3 separate regions of the Homo sapiens genome follow, and regions 2 and 3 are each linked to region 1. Evidence: promoter capture Hi-C in 16 types of primary human blood cells and fetal thymus (Javierre and others, 2016). All regions are on one chromosome and are shown on one strand. The core of a region is centred on a gene start or on the middle of the fragment in contact, and the rest is flanking DNA. Distances in the headings are between cores, read along the strand shown.

Region 1 (2,700 bases), core at 96-2,595:
ACCTCTGCAGAGAAGGGCTTGGCGCCTGCTGCCATCATGCAGATGTTGCCCCAAACAAAGGGAGACCCACCATCAGGTTCTCAAAGGGCTCTGTTGGCATAAGGAAGCCCAATGAAATACTGCAGGGAAAGAGCGGGGATCCTAAACTGAATAGTCCACCCTCTCCCAGGGCCACACCCCTGGGGTCCCACGCAAGGGAAAGGGGAGAAGGTGGAAAAACTGAAGGGAGTGGGGGTGGGGCAAGGGTGATTACCAGTGGCTTCATTGTAGTAAACATTGATTCTCTCCAGCTGCAAATCACTGTCTCCATGGTAACTGCCAGTGGGGTCAATCCCATGCTCATCACTGATGACCTCCCAAAACTGAGACAGAAAGGCTGCATTTAGCCATGAACGATGCCCCCAGAAACGCCAAGGCTCACAATGAAATGTCCCCGACTCAGTTCCGACAACCCAACATTTCAGGAGCTTGAAGCTTTAAAGGGCGTCGTGACCCGGGCACAGCCGCGGGGCTTGTATTTTGCAGGTTCAGAAAGTTGAAACTGGGCGTTTCCCAGGCAAACAGCTGCCGCTCGCGGGGGGAGGTAGGGGTCGAGGGGGTAAGGACCAGCCAAAGCCGGGCAGTGGCGGAGCTTGGCGCACTGGTCGCAGCCCCAGGCTGCGGCAGGAGGCGAGGGCACAGGGACTGCAGCCCGCCAGGAGCGGGTGGGCGGGGAAAGAGGAACGCAAAGGAGCTAAAGGACCGCGGTTTTAGATTCAAAGCACGTCCTGAGACCGCAAGACAATCGCTCTCCTCCCCTCCCCCGGCAGCTCGACTCCGGTTCAAGCGAGTACAATTAATCCTCCTGGTGTCCCAGCCCCTCGCGCGGAGCGCCGCGCACAGCCTCGCGGACACACCCTCGTCTTCTCCAGGCACGCGTGCCTGCCAAGCAGCCAGCGCGGAGGGAGGCCGAGGGGGTGACGGGGACTCCAAATGAGTTACAGCAGAAAGAAAGAGAGGTGCCCCCTCCGTCCGCGAAAGTCACCTCCTAGCCCAGGCCACACTCGGCGGCACAAAGCGGCCAGGAAGGTCTGCATTTGGCGATCCCCAGGCCTTCCCAGGACCGCGCCTGGGGACCCCGAGGGGCTCTCGGCCCAGGTTCGCGCCCCCATTGGACCCCCTCCGCTGCGGCGCGCCCACCTTGGCGCCGATCTGGTTGCCGCACTGGCCCGCCTGGATGTGCACGATCTCACGCATGGTGCCTCGTCAGCGTCCTCCTGGTCCGGCGGCGTCTGGGTCTGTCCGTCCTCCCCTCACACACCCACTGCGGGGTCACCGGGAAGGCGCTCGGGAACCGACGGGCTGAGAGCGCCGGCCCCGCGGGCTCCGGCTTTTATGCAAGGAGGGTGGGGCGGCCGGCACAGGCCGCGCCCCCAGCCCGAGCCCCCCAGTCCCCTTCGCGCTGGCGCTCTCCAGGCCCGGCTGACGTAATGCTCCGAGCCCTAGGGACCGTCCGGGGGGCTGGACCACCGGCCCGCGGCCAATCAGAGCGGGCGTGCCGACCGGGAGAGGGGTGGGGGCTACCGGGAGTATGGTGGGGGCGTGCGCATTGTCTGGGGCTGTGGTGGGGGTCTGGGTATGGGGATATGGGGGAACAGTGAAGAAAAGGAGGGTGAGAGGGCGGCGAGGCGAGGGCCACCAGCGCGTCCTGACCGGGGTGGGGGCAGAGCTGGCACCGGATGGGAACGATGGAGGACTGGAGCATGTGGAGAAGCCGTCAGGTGCTCCAGTGCCGGCAGGTGGGAGGGCTGAGGTGGCACAGGCTGCTCCGCCACCTCGGACTGCGGCTCCTACTCGGCCACTGGCCAGAGTCCCTCCAGCCAACTGCCCCTGGTGAGACCACCGTCTTTTTCCTCAACCCTGGAGGCCAGCGACTGCCCAGGCGGCGCTCCGTCTCACAGAGGCCTGGGGGAGGACAGGTGGCCCCAGAAGGAAGTCGTGCTTGATGGCAACCGGGACACCTGCGGCCCATGAACACCAGCGCGGCCTCCGCCCCCGCCCCAGCGTGGGCCTGCTTTCTCCTTTGTCTGTCTTGGGCTGGTAGCTCCTCTCACTGCGCCGCAGCATCTAGGGGTGAAGCGACCTCGGAGCCCCTCAGCCCTGCCCGACCCTCTCCGGGAGTGCATAACGCCCCTGCTGGTACCCAGGAGCCCTCTGCCCCGGGGGTTGACTTTTGTTGCTCGCTAGTGATGGAGTGGGAGTGGCCGGTGGCGCTGCACTGACCGTCCGGAGGGCAGAAAGAGGGTGGGGTCCCGGGGGCGGGGCTGTCGGCGGAACAAAGGGCTCTCAGAAACGTGGGATACGCTGTGTAACCCAGTATTTAAAACCACACGACAGGCGCCCCACCCCCCCACCCCGCCCTCGGATTCAGTTCATCTATTGTCAAGTAAGAGGGTGGGTTCCAAGGGTGGCCCAAGCCCGAGTAACAAACTTTCTTATCTTCCATCGCGGCGACCTGGAGGTCCGAGGCTTCGTGCTGCGGTTGAAGGGTGGGGAATACGACTAAAAACTGCAGCCCAGCGCGCGCGAGACGACCCAAGACCCACGCGCACTCGCACGAGCGCGTGCACAGACTTGGAGCACAGACCCTCCCTTCAGATCCGCAGTCTCTAGGTACTGAGGCAGGAACTGGTCTCTTTGTTACTTTTCGCGCGCGCGTGT
Region 2 (2,870 bases), core at 160-2,659, 750 kb after region 1:
TCATCGGGTACTAAATCAGCTCCACAAAGTTATTTTATCAACTGGCACCATAACTGAATCTTCAAAAGCCCATTCTGCCACTCTATCAAGCCAAGCTTCAGGATGATGGCAAACATGGTAAGACCAGTGAATTCCAAATAAAGGCATTCACAACATCATGCTTTCGTGAGCACATTGCTGCACTTCATTTGCTGTGAAATCAGTTCCTTGTCAGAAGCAAAGCTAGGAAGAGTGCCACTATCATACATTAGGTATTCTGTAAGTAAGTCCAGAGATGACCATTTTGGAGGAACCACTGTGGACAGGGAGGGCAATCCATCCATCTCCAGTGAGAACAAAGCAGTGCTTCTGGCAAGATGGAAATGGTCCACGTTACTTAAACTGTTGATTCCCCCAAATAACAGTGCCACATCATGGGCTCAATGTTTGTCTCTGCTGTTGGCAGGCTGGGCACCCTGCAGGAGCCATTTGCAAATCAGACTTTCACCGAGCCTAAGCTCAGCTCCATCCCTGCCACCTTGGGAACAGAATTCTGGGAAGTATAGTTCCCAACCTCAGAAGAACGGTGGTGTCATCAGGTTGACAAGAGGCAATCCAGCACAGATGTTCTCCTTGCCTCTCAGTGTTCTGAAAGGTCATTCCGATGTGCTGGGCCTTTCTGCATCACTGCAATGGGCACTCAGGAAGCCCTTTCTGTACAAAAGCACATGTTCTCAAGTTCGTGTAGATTTTTATTATTTTAGTTTCTTCTCCTTTGTTTACTCTGTTCTCTCTGGAATTCCTAATATCATGCACCTCTGAGTTGATTCTCTAATTTTCTTATCTTTTCCCTTCCCTTCTCTCCTTCTGTCCTCCACACTGCCTTTTTTGTTCTTTCTGGGATATGTTATTGACTTTATCTTCCAAAGTATCTGCTTATTTATTTGAAGATTTTTAAAGCTTTTTATTTTTAAATAATTATAGATTCACAGGAAATATTATTTCAAAATTCAAAAAAAGGTACTGGGATGTCTCATGCACCGCCCCCCCAGACTCCCTCACTGTTAACATCCTGAACGACTATAGCATAATATCGAAAATGAAAAATTGAAATTGGTGGTGGCGGCAGCACGGTGGCAGGGGCAGCAAGGCGGCTGCAGCAGCTGTAGAAGAGGTCAGCTCAGCCGGCCAGTTTGAGGAGCTGCTGCGCCTCAAAGCCAAGTCCCTCCTTGTGGTCCACAATGTGCACAGATGAACGAAGTTATGGCAGAGTTAGCTAAAGAACACCCTCAAGTTTCATTTGTGAAGTTGGAAGCTGAAGGTGTTCCTGAAGTATCTGAAAAATATGAAATTGGCTCTGTTCCCACTTTTCTGTTTTTCAATAATTCTCAGAAAATTGACCGATTAGATGGTGCACACATCCCAGAGTTGACCAAAAAAGCTCAGCGACATCTAGTGGCTCCTTCCCACCCAGCACTGATGAACATCTTAAAGACCAAAAAAGCTCAGCGACATGCATCTAGTGGCTCCTTCCCACCCAGCACTGACGAACATCTTAAAGAAGATCTCAACCTTCGCTTACAGAAACTGACTCATGCTGCCCCCTGCATGCTGTTTATGAAAGGAACTCCTCAAGAACCACTCTGTGGTTTCAGCAAGCAGATGGTGGAAATTGTTCACAAACATAATATTTAGTTTAGCAGTTTTGATGTCTTTAGATCAAGAGGTTCGACAGGGGCTCAAAGCCTATTCCAATTGGCCTACCTATCCTCAGCTCTACGTTTCTGGAGAGCTCATAGGAGGACTTGATATAATTAAGGAGATACACGCATCTGAAGAACTAGATATAATTTGTCCCAAAGCTCCCAAATTAGAGGAAAGGCTCAAAGTGCTGACAAATGAAGCTTCTATGATGCTCTTTATGAAAGGAAACAAACAGGAAGCAAAATGTGGATTCAGCAAACAAATTCTGGAAATACTAAATAGTACTGGTGGTGAATATGAAACATTCGATATATTGGAGGATGAAGGAGATCGGCAAGGATTAAAAGCTTACTCAAATTGGCCAACATACCCTCAGCTGTATGTGAAAGGGGAGCTGGTGGGAGGATTGGATATTGTGAAAGAGCTGAAAGAAAATGGTGAATTGCTGCCTATACTGAGAGGAGAAAATTAATAAATCTTAAACTTGGTGCCCAACTATTGCAAGAAATACTTAATTACATTGGGAGCAGTTCATGATTTAGTCCTCAGAAATGGGCTAGGAATAGAAAAATCCTGCTTACTCAGTTACATGTTTTTTGTATTTCACAATGTCGTGCTAAATAAAAGTATGTTACATGTTTTCCCACTAAAAATAGAATGCAATAAACATCTTCAAATTATTAACAATAACTGTATAAAAAAGTGTATCTTTACAGCAATATTAAACATACAGCTACTAGAAAAAAACTGAAATTGGTACAATCTACAGAGCTCATTCAGATTTCACAAGTTACACATGCCCGTGTGTGTTTGGCATAACTTTTTGCAATTTTATCACTTGTGTTGTCTTGGATAGCCACCATCACAATCAAGATACACAACAGTACCATAGCCGTAAGAGTCCCGCATGTTACCACTTTATGAACATACCTATTCCCTCTTCCCCCATTCCTAATCCCTCACAACCAGTAATCTGTTCTCCATTTCAAAAATGATGTTTCATCAATGTTGCATAGATGAAATCACGCAACATGCTTAAGATTGGCTTTTTTTCACTCAGCATAATTTCTTCTAAGCTATGTGTGTGTTGTTTTTCTGTTTTTACTGTTAGTAGTATTTCCACAGTATAAATGTACTACAATTTGTTTAATCATTCACTCATTACAGAACATTTGGGTTGTTTCCAG
Region 3 (2,790 bases), core at 115-2,614, 770 kb after region 1:
TTAAATGGAATAATGTATGTAAAGTATTTAGCACAGAGCCTAGCATGCAGTAAGCATTCAATAAATGTAGGGGAGAAGACGTGCAATATTTGACAAAAACATTTATTATCAATTTATTTAAAATGCATGCTTTAAAAAGAGTAAAATATGTGAACAGTCAGCTTGAATAAGTAGAAATAATGGTGATTAATAATCACATTAAAAAGTGTGTAACTGGCTAGGCATGGTGGCTCACGCCTGCAATCCCAGCACTTTGGGAGGCTGAGTGGGGGGATCACCTGAGGTCAGGAATTCCAAACCAGCTGGTCCAACACGGTGAAACCCCATCTCTACTGAAAATACAAAACTCAGCCAGGCGTGGTGGCAGGCGCCTGTAATCCCAGCTACTCGGGAGGCTGAGGCACGAGAATCACCTGAACCTGAGAGGTAGAGGTTGCAGTGAGCTGAGATTGTGCCACTGCACTCCAGCCTGGATGACAGAGTAAGACTCTGTCTCAAAAAACAAACAAACAAAAGTGCATAACTTCTCAAATAGAAATTTAAAATAAAAGAACAAGATATATGACTGTATTTCTTAGGCAGTAATTTAAAATAAAAAAAAATTGATAATGCCTGAGCTAGTAAGAATGTAGTGAATCACTCTCTTACATTTTACTAAGAGTATCCATCGGTACACGTTTTAAGGTAATTTGTTGGTACTTATTAAAATGTAAATGTTCACAATTGCTTGCCCTCACAGTTTAATTTCTAAGAATTTTTCCTACTGAAATACTGATTTAAGGAAGCAAAATACATAGTATTTGCAAGGATGGCTAAAGAAAAAAACAAAACTACAAAAAATAAAGCATATCTACAAATGCTATTATGAAGATTCAAAATATATACCAGAACAAGTTGTATGTATGTATAGTATGAGCCTTTTATTGTAAAAAACAATAGTAACTATGACATATATGTTAATGTGTTCATAGAAAAATAATCTATGTCTAGAGGTTAAGATTACGGTTGTTTCACTTTTAGTATATTTTTATGTTTAAGCTAGAAGCTTCTATAAATGAATAGTAATTATATATTAGTAGTAATTTACAATTGAAACACTTTAGAGGGATACCAAAGTATGAGAGGTGGTTTTCTCAGGAAGAAGAGAAATGGCGTCTGATGTTCCAGCAGAATGGAGACAGACACCAGGCTGTCAAAATCATCACTTGACAAGCTGTCTGCACAGCAATAGTTAACACGCAAATTAAACTTTTCATATACTGGATTCATAGAGAAATGTGGTGTAAATTTACCGTTACTTTAACTTAAGAAAAAAGCTGCACTACTTTTTCATAATTTAGGCCTTCCTTAACCCTGAGAAGGAGGTCCCTCTCTTACTCCCTCTTCTTACTTGAAATGGACTCATGAGTGTAAATTCAAGCATGTCTGTGCAAATGCTCTGCAATGTTCAGAGAAGAAAACTGCTAGATCATGGGCATCTTTAACCTAGGTTTGTGTGGAGCAGCAATGAGCATGCAAGCTGTTCCAAGGAAAAGTTAATTTTACTGCTTCATGTCAGTAAAAGTTCATATGTTTTATTTTACTATTCCAACATGAAACTTTATATTTAAAAACCTGAAAACTATTTTTAAGTACAGCAGTCTTTCTGCATATAGTATTACTCACATGTGTGCAAATTCTGCTCAAAGCTTCGATTTAGTTGTTCCCAAAACAGTCTCTCCCTTCATATACTGTACCTCTAAATTAATCCTACATTGAGTTTAGACTATTAACATAACGTAGGCCAATCCCTGTTTAACTTGCCAATCCAAGTCTTTCATTCCTAATCTTAAAAGTGCTTCATTTTTAAAAAGCACTGAAGGAAGTAAATGCATGGAAATGGAACTTGCCTAGCAGTTTCATGTGTAGGCAGATACAAAAGACATCTGTGTAGTAGTAATCCAGGAATCAGATTACTCTACTGGCTCGTTTTTTCAAGGATGGTAGAAGGAATGGGCGTAACCATGGAAATGTTCCTTCCCAAAACACAAATCTTAAACAAAACCCAAAAGCCTAGAAACATCAAAAAACCCAGGAACTCTAGCTTCCAACAGAGAACTCAACATCACCATGACACAGAGTAGCTAAAAAGAGATCCTTCCAAAAAAGAAAGTGCTACAAAAACACAGCCTTTCGAAATTTTATCCCAGGCAAGATGCCTTTTATTCTGTAAAATAAAACACTTGTCAGCAATAACAGAAATGAAATGTGTGTCTAAAATCTTCTTTAGAAGGACTATTATTCAGTAGCTCAATTCAGTCACTTTAGATAATTGTGGTGTGGCATTTAAATCCTAAATTAAAGCTCTTCCTCTACTAGTTGACATGGAAGTAATTCTGTGGGGGCTCTTGGTCTAAACTTAGCTGGAAACAACTAAAATTTGGATAAATTCATATAAAAACAACAGTCTCCTTTGCCAAAGAAGCTGGAATATGGACTGACAATATTGAAATAAATTAAACAAATGTTTATCATATACTATCATGTGCTAAGCACTTTCAACTGCTAGGCAAACAGCTGCCAACAAAAATAGATGAGAACTCTGTAATTTTATAGAACTTGTGAAAATAAGTAATTCAAAATCAAAGCTATTGGAACGTTATTTTGAGCCTTAAAGGAATGTGATTATACGACCTGAGTCACTAACAGGCAGCTGTAACCTTTATTTCCCTAATTACGGATTAGCCTTGAATAAACTCAGGTGAGCCACTGTACCTGGCTTTGAGAATTTCAATAAAAGAAAAGGAGGTG

What was found. Contacts are between HindIII fragments. The CHiCAGO score rates a contact against its expected background, and 5 or more counts as called.
Region 2: a fragment that was not itself captured here is called in contact with the fragment with the promoter of TUBB2B in region 1 in 2 of 17 cell types (monocytes and M1 macrophages); the score reaches 5.8 in monocytes.
Region 3: a fragment that was not itself captured here is called in contact with the fragment with the promoter of TUBB2B in region 1 in 2 of 17 cell types (M2 macrophages and activated CD4 T cells); the score reaches 5.4 in M2 macrophages.

Annotation. Positions count from the first base shown.
Region 1 is chr6:3,226,308-3,229,007 of GRCh38, forward strand. It overlaps TUBB2B (tubulin beta 2B class IIb), which reads right to left and starts at 1,346. Exons shown (of 4, transcript NM_178012.5): 1 at 1,180-1,346; 2 at 254-362. The coding sequence starts at 1,236. RefSeq lists enhancers at 329-989, 990-1,648 and a silencer at 1,253-1,542. The HindIII fragment of the contact is 13,618 bases long and covers 473-2,700 here.
Region 2 is chr6:3,976,945-3,979,814 of GRCh38, forward strand. It overlaps the pseudogene GLRX3P2. Among named protein-coding and RNA genes, the nearest start is that of PRP4K, 43 kb to the right of the region's middle. RefSeq lists a silencer at 1,351-1,645. The HindIII fragment of the contact is 944 bases long and covers 938-1,881 here.
Region 3 is chr6:3,995,347-3,998,136 of GRCh38, forward strand. No RefSeq gene overlaps it. Among named protein-coding and RNA genes, the nearest start is that of PRP4K, 25 kb to the right of the region's middle. The HindIII fragment of the contact is 643 bases long and covers 1,044-1,686 here.